3 separate regions of the Homo sapiens genome follow, and all the other regions are linked to region 3. Evidence: promoter capture Hi-C in 16 types of primary human blood cells and fetal thymus (Javierre and others, 2016). All regions are on one chromosome and are shown on one strand. The core of a region is centred on a gene start or on the middle of the fragment in contact, and the rest is flanking DNA. Distances in the headings are between cores, read along the strand shown. Region 1 overlaps ATP8B3 (ATPase phospholipid transporting 8B3). Region 2 overlaps REXO1 (RNA exonuclease 1 homolog). Region 3 holds the start of UQCR11 (ubiquinol-cytochrome c reductase, complex III subunit XI).

Region 1 (3,492 bases), core at 847-3,346, 200 kb after region 3:
GGTGCGGCAGCCCTCCCCACCCTGGGAGGGGTGCTCTCGGTGAGGGGGCGCGTGGTTCTGGGACCTCGGGGTCAACCCCAGCTCACTGGGACGATGTTGTCCTTGCGGAGACAGACCACATCCCCCACGCACAGATCCTGCCATTTCTTCTGCTTGAAGCTGCGGGGAGAGGGGGTTGTGAAGGAGGCCCCTCCCTCTGCCAACCCTCCCCACACCGGGAGACCAGAGGCACGGGATGACGGGGGGCCCGCAGCTGCAGTCCCCACCTCCGGGCCTTTGCCCCCTCAGGAAGCCTTCCCCGGGCTCCCACCCCACTCCCCGCGGGTCCACGCTCCCACCCAGTGACCTCCAGGGTCCTGCACCCACGTCCTCTTCAGACTTTCCTTGTCCTCCCCATCGCCCGAGCCCTAAGCTCTGCAAGGGTTCGCCATCAGGGCCTCGGCCTCTGTCCTCGTCCCGGCCAAACGCCTAATGAATGCAGGCCCGGTTCCTGTCGGACTCAACCAGCCGGGAGATCAGGGAGCACGGAAGGTGATGGACACTTGCCGAGGCCGATGACCCTGCTGGGCTGGAGCCCCCGTGTCCCCGCGGATCCCCAGCTGCAGCCCCAGCCTCACCTCTTCCCCATCAGAATCTGGCAGGGTCTGTTGTTGATGGCTCTGTCACTCTTGTGTCTCCCCTGGGCCAGGAGGGAAAGGATCAGAGAGACCGTCCAGCCTCTCCTGCCCCCGCCCAGGCCGCTGCCGCACTGCAGCCCAGCAGTGCCCGCCCGCAACACGGGGTCCCTGTCCGCTGGCCCCACGCCACGTTGCGTCTGCTCAGGGATCCCGGACGTGGGGGCCACTGGACCCACTGCTATTGGCGGGGAGAAGACAGGCGTGCTGCCCACCACCTAGAGTGCCTGCCAGACCACCCCCCACCAAAGCTCAATGGCCCCAAAACCACGCACCGACAGAGCCAACGCCACCTGCGGCACCTGCCCAATGTGGGTGCTAGCAGATAAGGACAATGTAGCCCCAGCAGCTGAGGCTCCCAGGCCCACGTTCCCCTAATGCTCCAGGAAGCCCAGCCCTCCTCCCACTCTCGCCCAGGGATCAAGAGACCCCCCCGACCGGCCCCGCTCCCTCCCCCAGGCAGCTGCATCCAACAGCACTCACCATGTCGTCCACCAGGTCCCGGGTGGCACGGATGAAGAGGAGGCAGACCATAGGGGTACTGAGCGAGAACCAGGGCAGCGTGGAGATGTCGGGAATGCTCTGACGTGAGGGGGCCACAGGAAGGGTCACACCAGCCCACTCCCCCGTCCCCTGCCCTTCCACCAAGCCGACCTAGCCCCGCACTCGACACCACGTGACACATCTGCTGGCCACCTTGACCGGGGTCCAGCCATCTCCTGCAACCCCCAGCCCTCGGGACAAACGCCCCGGCATCCCTCCACCTGCCTGGAACTTCTCCCACACGCCTCGTCTCCCCAGCAAACTCCCCTTCTCCCGTCCAAGCCCAGCTCCCACGGTGCCTTCTCCAGGGAGCCTCCCCCAGCCCCAAGCTTGGCCGCCACTGCTCCCCCTCCCTCCCATGTCCCTGCTTCCCCAGGTCACCCTGCAGGTGTGAGCTCCACCATCCCCTACCCTGGCACCCGGCCAGCGGCCTGCACACAGTAGGTACTCCATTAATGCTGAATGACTCGATGGATGAAAGGAGAACCTCTCCATCCAGAACAGAAATGAGATGTTGGGTGAGAGTGTTTGCTCTGAAAACAGCGCCCCTGGCCGGATGCCGGCCCCACGCTGGCCTGGACCACCCAGGTACCGGGAAGTGGCTCCACAGGTCCTGAGAACATGCTCTGGGCTCCTCCTTCCCCCTCGCCTCTGAGGTCAGCTGGGAGGGCGGGGGCCAGGGGAGCTGCGTGGCCGAGGCCGTTTAGGCTGGGGAACAGCTATGCCTCCCGATGCCCAGCCCTGCCCAGCAGGAACCAGCGGGGCGTGGAGAGGGTGCCGTCATCAGACCTGGAGGGTGCATCCATCCACCTTTGTCATTCAACATGTACTGAGCGCCTCTTGTGTGCCAGGCCCTGGGCAGGGTAGTAGGGACTCAGCGCTGAGGGTCCCAGTCTGTGGGGAGTGGGACGTGAACCCACCCATCACACAGACAAACACATCGATGCTGCCAGGTGGCTAGGGGGGACTTCCTGGAGGAGGCAACACGCCTCACCTGCAGGATGATGATGATGAGGAAGAACAGGTTGGACACGCGGTGGAACTGCTCGTACAGGTTCAGCGGCAGGAACGAGTAGAAGTTGTACTTGGCCGTGCGGATGACATTGGTCTGGAACGAGAGCCGCGGGCTGCCTGGCAGAGGGGTGCCATCCAGGCCAGGGGATGGGGGTGCCCGAGGCCAGACCTGCCTCACTTGGCCTCGCCCAGCATCCTCTGGGCTATGGGACACACACCATTCATTAAGCATCTACTGAGCCAGCAGTTACTGAGCACCTGCTGAATGCAAGGCCTCAGACCAGCATTTACTGAGCACCTGCTGAATGCAAGGCCTCAGGCCAGCATTTACTGAGCACCTGCTGAATGCAAGGCCTCAGACCAGCATTTACTGAGCACCTGCTCAGTAATGTAAAAGCCTGGAGCCAGCATTAATCAAGCTTCTACTGAGTGCAAAGACTCATGGAGCTGTGACCAGCATTTCCCAAAGCAAGACACCCAAGAGGATTTCAGGTAGGGCCGCGATGGACACATTGTACTTTCAGGTTGGGTATTAACTGACCCTCACGTGCACTGGGACAGGGCAAATGAGACACACAGAACTCTTGTGCCAAACCAGTGATTTGGTTAGGACGGGCGGTTCGGTCCTCGAGATGAAAATAAAAATATCGGCCAGACATGGTGGCTCACCCCTGTAATCCCAGCATTTCGGGAGGTCAAGGTGGGTGGATCACTTGAGGTCAGGAGTTCCAGACCAGCCTGGCCAACATGACAAAACCCCATCTCTACTAAAGATGCAAAAAATTAGCCGGGCGTGGTTGTGGGTGCCTGTAATCCCAGCTACTTGGGAGTCTCAGGCAGGAGAATCACTAGAACCCGGGAGGCAGAGGTTGCAGTGAGCCGAGATCTCGCCACTGCATTCCAGCCTGGGCGACAGAGCGAGACTCCATCTTAAAACAAAACAGAAAAAAGAAAAAAGAGGCTGGGCGCAGTGGCTTACGCCTGTAATCCCAGCACTTTGGGAGGCCGAGGTGGGTGGATCACCTGAGATCAGGAGTTCGAGACCAGCCTGGCCAACATGGTGAAACTGTCTCTACTAAAAATACAAAAATTAGTCAGGCGTGGTGGTGCATGCCTGTAATCCCAGCTACTTGGGAGGCTGAGGCAGGAGAATTGCTTGAACCCCGGAGGTGGAGGTTGCAGTGAGCCGAGATGTCGCCACTGCACTCCAGCCTGGGCAACAGAGGGAGACTCTGTCTCAAAAAAAAAAAAGAAAGAAAGA
Region 2 (3,758 bases), core at 957-3,456, 240 kb after region 3:
CCAGCTCCCCAGGGCCCAGAGCCACAGCTGGGCAAAGCTTCAACCCCCCGCCCGGAGGGTCCCAGCTCCCCAGGGCCCAGAGCCGCAGCTGGACTCGCAGGCTCGCCGGCGAGGGCTGAAAAAGAAACGGCCTCAGCACCACCGCTGGTTGTCACCACTGGGGTCAGGGAAGCCCAGGGACGCTGCTCAACATCCTACAACGCAAAGGACAGCCCACCAGACGACAATCTGGCCCCCAGTGTCCCTAGCACCAACCGTCCCTCCAGCAAGCTCCATAGCTGCCACTCCAGGCCAGGCAGGCAGGCGGCCCCGGTGGCCCGATTGCCCACCTGCCACCCGCTGGTAAAATCACCCCCGGGTCCTCATACGCCCTGGTCAGGCCTGGGGAACCAAAAGACAATACTGCTGGCTGCGGGGGTTCTCCCCTAGAGTCCATTCCTTCCTGGACGCGGCTCACTGAGGATGAAAAGTCGGACCGAGGAGAGCACACACTGTCACGTCTCTGAAGGTGACACAGGTGGTCAGACGGTGCCTTCACTGCCCCACGGAAAGCCGGCTGTCTCCCATCCACCAGGAGGAGGCAGCACAGGACGCAGCCAGCGGGAGCTCCTGACCCTCCTGAGAGGCCAGAGGAAATGAAGGCAAGCCATCCTCTGCAGCGAGGCGCCATTCTTGGCCTCCTTCTCCCTTCTCGCCTGACTCGGGGCCTCAGAGTTTCCGAGGAGAGCTGGCAAGCCCTAACAGATCAGTAGGATCCCAGGGCTCACCTGCCTAGCAGGGGTATGGGAGGCTGTCACCGACACCGGAGAGCCAGGCCTGCTTCAGGCCCATCCTTGGAAGGTTTCAAGTTCCCTTCTGTGCCCAGCCCACAGAGGCTGGCAGCAAAAACGGCAGAGGAGGCAGGCAGGGCCCCGGCCCACCCACATCCAACCCAGCACTGCCAGTTACCAGCCACGCGTACACAGGTGAGCAGCCTCCCGGCGCTGGGCCTCAGTTTCCTCATCTGTAAACTGGGAAGAGCCACTCCCACTGCTGTTTGGGGGTCACAGGCAGAGTCCGCCCAGTACTGCTGTGGTAGTGGCCAAGTCAAGAGGTAGGGACCCCAGAGCCCATGTGAGGGGCCACATCTGAAGAGCCAGAAGGAGGAGGACCCCTGCCTGACCCGACTCTGCTAGAAGGCTCAGGAGATACTGGGTACATGGTGGCTGGGCTTCAGGAGATATTGGGTACACGGTGGGTGGGCTTCAGTAGATACTGGGTACACAGTGGGTGGGCTTCAGGGCTCCCCATGTACCTGGGGCTGCTCCCTGAGCGCCTCTACCCCAGGACTCCTGCCCTCTACAGATGCAGTTCTGGAGAGTCGCCTGGAGCCCCAGCTGGGACGCCGCCAACAGCCCCACCCAGAACCACTGGCACCGGGCTGCCAGATCCTGAACCCGACTGCGGGATCCCCGAGGGCAGGAGCTGTGCGCCCCGCACACACGTCTGCCGCTCACTTTGCAGTATAGGATGGCCCCTTCCCCAGGCCTGGGACTGTCCTGCTGGGGCCTGAGTCAGCCTGTGGCGCAGCACTAGCATCCCCTCAACGTGGTGCCCTCAGCCTCTGCCTCCCTCAGGAGAAGCATCATCTGGGAGCACGTTCCTGCCGGAGCTGTGAAGCCCTGAGCTGGGGCCCACCGCACCTCTGGAGAGCCCTGGACTTTCCTGCAATCCTCCCCGGAAGGGTTCCCTCTCCTGGAAGACAGTGTCCTGCCTCTCAGTAGGACACAGACTCCCTGAGACACCACAGGGAGTGCGGGGCAGTGGGCAGAGGCCTGGGTTCTGAGGTCAGATGGGAGGAAGGTGGGATCTAGCCCTGCCCACTCCACATAGACAACCGAGGCCCCTCACCTACCACCAGGCTGCAGCCAAGGCCCAGGCAGCAGAGAGCGGCCACTGGGGGGATAGTAACGCTCATTCCCAACTCACAAGGCTGGGATAGAACGTGCCCCTCTAGGCCGGGGATGCACATCCCTGCGTCCCAGGGCTACACGGTGCCCGCCGTAAGGGCTGCTGGACCATCCCTCCAAGCCACCCTGGGCAGGTCCAGCCGGCTCTGAAATGGCTGTGCAGCCCAGCGCGGTGCTTCACGCCTGTCATCCCAGCACTTCAGGAGGCTGAGGAGAGAGGATCGCTTGAGTCCAGGAGCTCAAGACCAGCATGGGCAACAAAGTGAGACCCCGTCTCGGCAAAAATTTTAAACATTAGCGAGGTGTGATGTCACATGCCTGTGGTCTCAGCTAGTCAGGAGGCTGAGCCAGGTGGATCCCTTGAGTCCAGGAGGTCGAGGCTGCAGTAAGCTGTGATCGCACCACTGCACTCCAGCCTGGGTGATAAAGTGAGACCCTGTCTCAAAAATTAATTCATTAAATAAAATGGCTGAGCAGGTCCAGGGATAAGAGCCCAGAAGGAAACCTGAGTCCTTCAGCAGTGCTGCTCAAGGTCGCCAATGACCCGCTGAGCCTGTGACCCAGGGCCCAGGAGCACCAGCCACCTTCCTGTTCCCGTCGCAGCTCCGCCAAGCCTCCCAACCCTGCCTGCCTTGGTGCCCTCATCAGATGCCCTCTCCTTCTCCCAGAGGCCCTGGAGGCTCCAGCCCTGCCCTGGCCAGGTGGTAGTATGGGCAAAACACGTTCCTCGATAAGCCTCCGTTTCCCCACCGGCAGCAAATAGCTCACAGGGTCACCATGCAGCGCGTGTCCAGCACAGAGCATGGCCCCACAGGTGCTCCAGGGCTAGCTGAGGGCTTTTCACCTGAACCTCTGTCCACTCTCAATCCTGGGAGGCCAGCGTTCCTGTCTATCTCCTCTCTGGAGGCCGCTGCCCTGTGCACCCTAAAATCCCCTTGAGAAGACATGGCAAAGGCTAGATCACGCCAGCCTCTTCAAATCTCATAGGAAACTGGGTGTGTGTAAATCTGGAGGTGTGGACATGGGACATGCATCCCCCCCTGTCCTCAGAGGGCAGCCTGATGAACATGTCACGGAGGCGGAAACAGAGGGTCAGAGAAACCTCACCGCAAGGAAGATGGATCCTGCCTTCTGCGGGGGGAGGCAGTCTTCTACCAGACAGTAACAAGAAGCCCTACCACCCCACCAGAGATGGGAAAAGGAGTTCATTCTCACCAGCAAAAGGGAAATGCAGACACGCCATGGTAAGAGGCAGGCAGCTGCCTTTTTCCCATAGGAACGGGGGGCAGACAGGAAGACGACATCACCAAAGGGACCCTCAAAAATAAGCCTTTGGGAAACAAATGAGCCATTTGGGATGCAGACAGATATCATAAGCCTGACTTGCGCCGGGTGCAGTAGCTCACACCTGTAACCCCAGCACTTTGGGAGGCCGAAGCAGGAGGTCGGCTCGAGGCCAGGAGTTTTGAGACAAGCCTGGACAACATAGCGAGACCCTATCTCCACGAAAACATACAAAGTTAGCCAGGCTTGGTGGCACCCGCCGCCCATAGTCCCAGCTACTCAGGAGGTTCAGGCAGGAGGATCCCTTGAGCCCAGGAGGTCGAGGCCTCAAAGAGCTGTGATCGCACCACTGCACTCCAGCCTGGACTATAGAGTGAGACCCTGTCTCTAAAAATAGGGTTAAAATGAGCATCGTGAGTCTGGTGTCACAGCCTCCGAGAAGCCTCTCCCACGCGTTGCCTTCTTCACCAACTCCCAGCCCCCGCCAAAGCCGGCTGCGTGCTCCCAGGACATCACGACCTATGC
Region 3 (3,485 bases), core at 383-2,882:
TCCACTTGAAGGTCCCAGTCAGCTCCACCGTGCAGACCCTGTCCCCGACCTGTCCCCCAGTCTGGGATAGAGGAAGTATGTTCTGGCTTCCGGAGACACTGCCAATCATAAGCCTTTGCTTTTTTCTTTTTTAGAAACGGAGTTTCGCTCTTGTTGCCCAGGCTGGAATGCAATGGCACAATCTCAGCTCACCACAACCTCCACCTCCCGGGTTTGAGCGATTCTCCTGCCTCAGCCTCCCAAGTAGCTGGGATTACAGGCACGCGCCACCATACTTGGCTAATTTTGTATTTTCAGTAGAGACGGGGTTTCTCCATGTTGGTCAGGTTGGTCTCAAACTCCTGACCTCGGGTGATTCGCCCGCCTTGGCCTCCCAAAGTGTTGGGATTACAGGCGTGAGTCACTGCGCCCAGCAGCTCTAAATTTTTTTGTAGAGATAAGGTCTTGCTGTGTTGCCCAGGCTGGTCTCAAATTCCCAGGCTCAAACGATCCTCCCACCTTAGCCTCCCCAGTAGCTGGGACTACAGACAGGTGCCACCATGCCCTGATAATTTTTTGTTTTGTAGAGATGGGGTTTCATTGTGTTGTCCAGGATGGTCTTGAACTCCCAGGCTCAAGTGATTCTCCTGCCTGGGCCTCCCAAAGCACTGGGATCACAGGCCGGAGCCACTGCACCCGGCTAAGACCTTGCTGCTTTTTTTTTCTTTTCTCTTTTTGGGACACAGTCTCATTCTGTCACCCAGGCTGGAGTGCAATGGCGCAATCTCAGCTCACTGCAACCTCCTCCTCCCGGGTTCAAGCGATTCTCCTTCCTCAGCCTCCCGAGTAGCTGGGATTAGAGGCACCCGCCACCACGCCTGGCTAATTTTTGCATTTTTAGTAGAGACGCGGGTTTCACCACGTTGGCCAGGCTGGTCTCGAACTCCTGACCTCAGGTGATCCACCTGCCTCGGCCTCACAAAGCGCTGGGATCACAGGCGGGAGCCACCGCACCCAGCCAGGCCTTGCTTCTTAGCACCCCACGTGGAAACACCAGACAACCCTACGGAGGCCACCCCCAGCCCGGCTTCTATGGGGGCCACCCCTATGCCGTCCCGCTGCCCACGTGGGCTCAGGCGCAGCTGAAGCTTTCACGCTCCTTGTTAAAAATCATAAAAACCAAAATAGTGGCAAAGGCCGAAGATGCCGCGAGTGCTGGGCTGGGGATCGGGACTCGGCACCTTCTGGGCGCTTCCGTCCAGGGGGTCACCATTCGGATCCCCCGGTAGAGATGGGGAAACTGAGGCTTGGAGCGGCCTAGCCGCGGAGCCGGGCATGCTGGGGTTTGGCCTTGGGTCCGTCACGTCCCGTTCACGCCGGGACGCGCCGCTCCGCCTCTCGGCCTCAGTTTCCCCCTCTGTCACCGGGAACAACAAGGGACCTGGGCCCGGCCCGGCCCGGCCCCCGGAAACGCGCACAAATACGGAACGCAGCGGCGCGGGGCTGGGCCGAGGCGGGAGCGCGGATGGGGCCGCGGGTCGGCGTCCTCACCAGTTCTTGACCAGCTCCCGGTAGCGTGGGCCCAGGAACCGGGTCACCATCGCGGCGGAGTCGCACCCTCAGGATGACCCTGTCCAGCTGACCCGGCTACACTGCGCAGGCGCGGCCGCGGCGCGCACGCGCGCGGGGAGGGCGGGGGGGGGGGGAGGAAAAAAAAACATCATCCGCCACTGTGCGCGCAGACCCGGAAGCCACTTACAGTAACTTCCGGCGAGGGTTGGACGACCGCGGAGAAGTGGTCCGGAGTGGGCGGCGTTAGGGCGGTGCTTTCTGGCCACGTGGTCTGGCGGCCGATTGTGCTTCTGGGCTCCGCGGGGCTACCTGCCAGTGATTTTGTGCGCCTAGTATGTGCCAGAACGTTATTTACAATGAAGGAAACTGAGGTCCAGCGGGGAAGGGTCTTGCTCAGAGTCACACAGAGGGGAAGAGCTGGGATTGGAGCCCACTTTTGGAGGCGTCAGGCGTTGTTCCTGATTCGCTGTAGGACTTTGGTCGAGCGGCAGTGCTTCCCTGAGCCTCAGCGTTGCCCGTTGCTTGGAGGCCCTGTCGGAAATCTCTTTGCAGGATTCCGTTTGCGAGCCTGGGTTATTCCTCATTCCGGCAGCAGAGGGTGGCCTGGCTCCTTGCTCGGTGAACGTCTCTGGATGCTCTTAGCTGATGACAGGCAGGTCTTTCTGCCTCCTGCTTTCCACCGCACCAGGCTCGCTTGGGCTCGCCTTTCTCCAGTCCCTGCTTCCTCTGCTCTCCCACAACCCGGCGCAGCACCGTACATGCTCACTCAGCTCCCAGCTTCCAGCCTCCCCCCTGCACACCGGGCCGGTGTGGGCAGAAGGAAGAGGGGCATATTCCCAGACACCGCCATTGCACTTTTGTGCCTTTTCCCCCATATTCAAGAGTTGCCTCCCTCAGGAAGCCCTCCTGGACTGCCTGACCCACAGGCACCTTTACAGCATGAACGGAAAGGCCATAGCCTAGACGGGGCACTGGGCGTGATTTGTCTCTCGGGCGCCAGCGTCACTTGCAGGCCTCGTGATAAGGAATGGACACCGTGGGTTCTTCTGCCCAGCCTGGCCTGTCCTCCTGGGGTCAGCCCCTCAGTACACCCCAAGCCTGCAGCTCTCTGGGGACTGCGGGTGCTAACCCATCCCTATCCCTGGTTAAGGACTCAGGGTGGGAGCCGGAAATAGGTTTTGGACACCACAGTCTGGGCACTGTTTTTCTTTCTTTTTTTTTTTGAGACGGAGTCTCGCTCTGTGGCCCAGGCTGGAGTGCAATGACACGATCTCGGCTCACTGCAACCTCCGCTTCCCGGGTTCAAGCTTCTCCTGCCTCAGCCTCCCAAGTAGCTGGGACTACAGGCGTGAGCCACCACACCTGGCTAGTTTTTGTATTTTTAGTAGAGATGGGGTTTGGCCATGTTGGCCAGGCTTGTCTTGAATTCCTGACCTCAAGTGATCCGCCTCCCAAAATGCTGGGATTACAGGTGTAAGCCACCGGGCCCGGCCCTGGGCATTGTTTGTAGAACTTTCCAGTTGGCTTGGGGTTTTTGAGCTTGGGATCAGAGAGCACCTGAATAAGACTCTTCCCATTGGTGGAAACTTAAAAAAGTGGGATGCAGGGGCTGACACAGAGACTATTAAGAGAAAGGACAGGAACACAAGGGCTGCTGGAATGTCAGCCCAGAGTTTCCAGATGCCACAATGTAAGAGTTCACCAGTGGCCGGGCACGGTGGCTCACGCCTATAATCCCAGCACTTTGGGAGGTTGAGGCGGGCAGATCACCTGAGACTGGGAGTTCGAGACCAGCGTGACCAACATGGAGAAACCCCATCTCTACTAAAAATACAAAATTAACCGGACATGGTGACGGATGCCTGTAATTCCAGCTACTCGGGAGGCTGAGGCAGGAAAATTGCTTGAAAACCCGGGAGGCAGAGGTTGCGGTG

What was found. The method cuts DNA at HindIII sites, captures the fragments that hold promoters and counts their contacts. A CHiCAGO score of 5 or more calls a contact.
Region 1: a contact is called between a fragment that was not itself captured here and the fragment with the promoter of UQCR11 in region 3, in 3 of 17 cell types (megakaryocytes, endothelial precursors and erythroblasts). The highest score is 8.2, in megakaryocytes.
Region 2: a fragment that was not itself captured here is called in contact with the fragment with the promoter of UQCR11 in region 3 in 2 of 17 cell types (naive CD4 T cells and total B cells); the score reaches 7.1 in naive CD4 T cells.

What each region holds. Positions count from the first base shown.
Region 1 is chr19:1,806,011-1,809,502 of GRCh38, forward strand. It overlaps ATP8B3 (ATPase phospholipid transporting 8B3), which reads right to left. Exons shown (of 29, transcript NM_138813.4): 5 at 2,212-2,325; 6 at 1,158-1,256; 7 at 618-679; 8 at 87-159. Among named protein-coding and RNA genes, the nearest start is that of ATP8B3, 4.5 kb to the right of the region's middle. The HindIII fragment of the contact is 1,104 bases long and covers 1,545-2,648 here.
Region 2 is chr19:1,843,272-1,847,029 of GRCh38, forward strand. All of the region lies in intron 1 of REXO1 (RNA exonuclease 1 homolog), which reads right to left. Among named protein-coding and RNA genes, the nearest start is that of REXO1, 3.3 kb to the right of the region's middle. The HindIII fragment of the contact is 4,342 bases long and covers 36-3,758 here.
Region 3 is chr19:1,603,830-1,607,314 of GRCh38, forward strand. It overlaps UQCR11 (ubiquinol-cytochrome c reductase, complex III subunit XI), which reads right to left and starts at 1,633. Exons shown (of 3, transcript NM_006830.4): 1 at 1,531-1,633. The coding sequence starts at 1,580. RefSeq lists silencers at 1,384-1,453, 1,504-1,763 and enhancers at 1,824-2,133, 2,589-3,210. The HindIII fragment of the contact is 1,731 bases long and covers 1,126-2,856 here.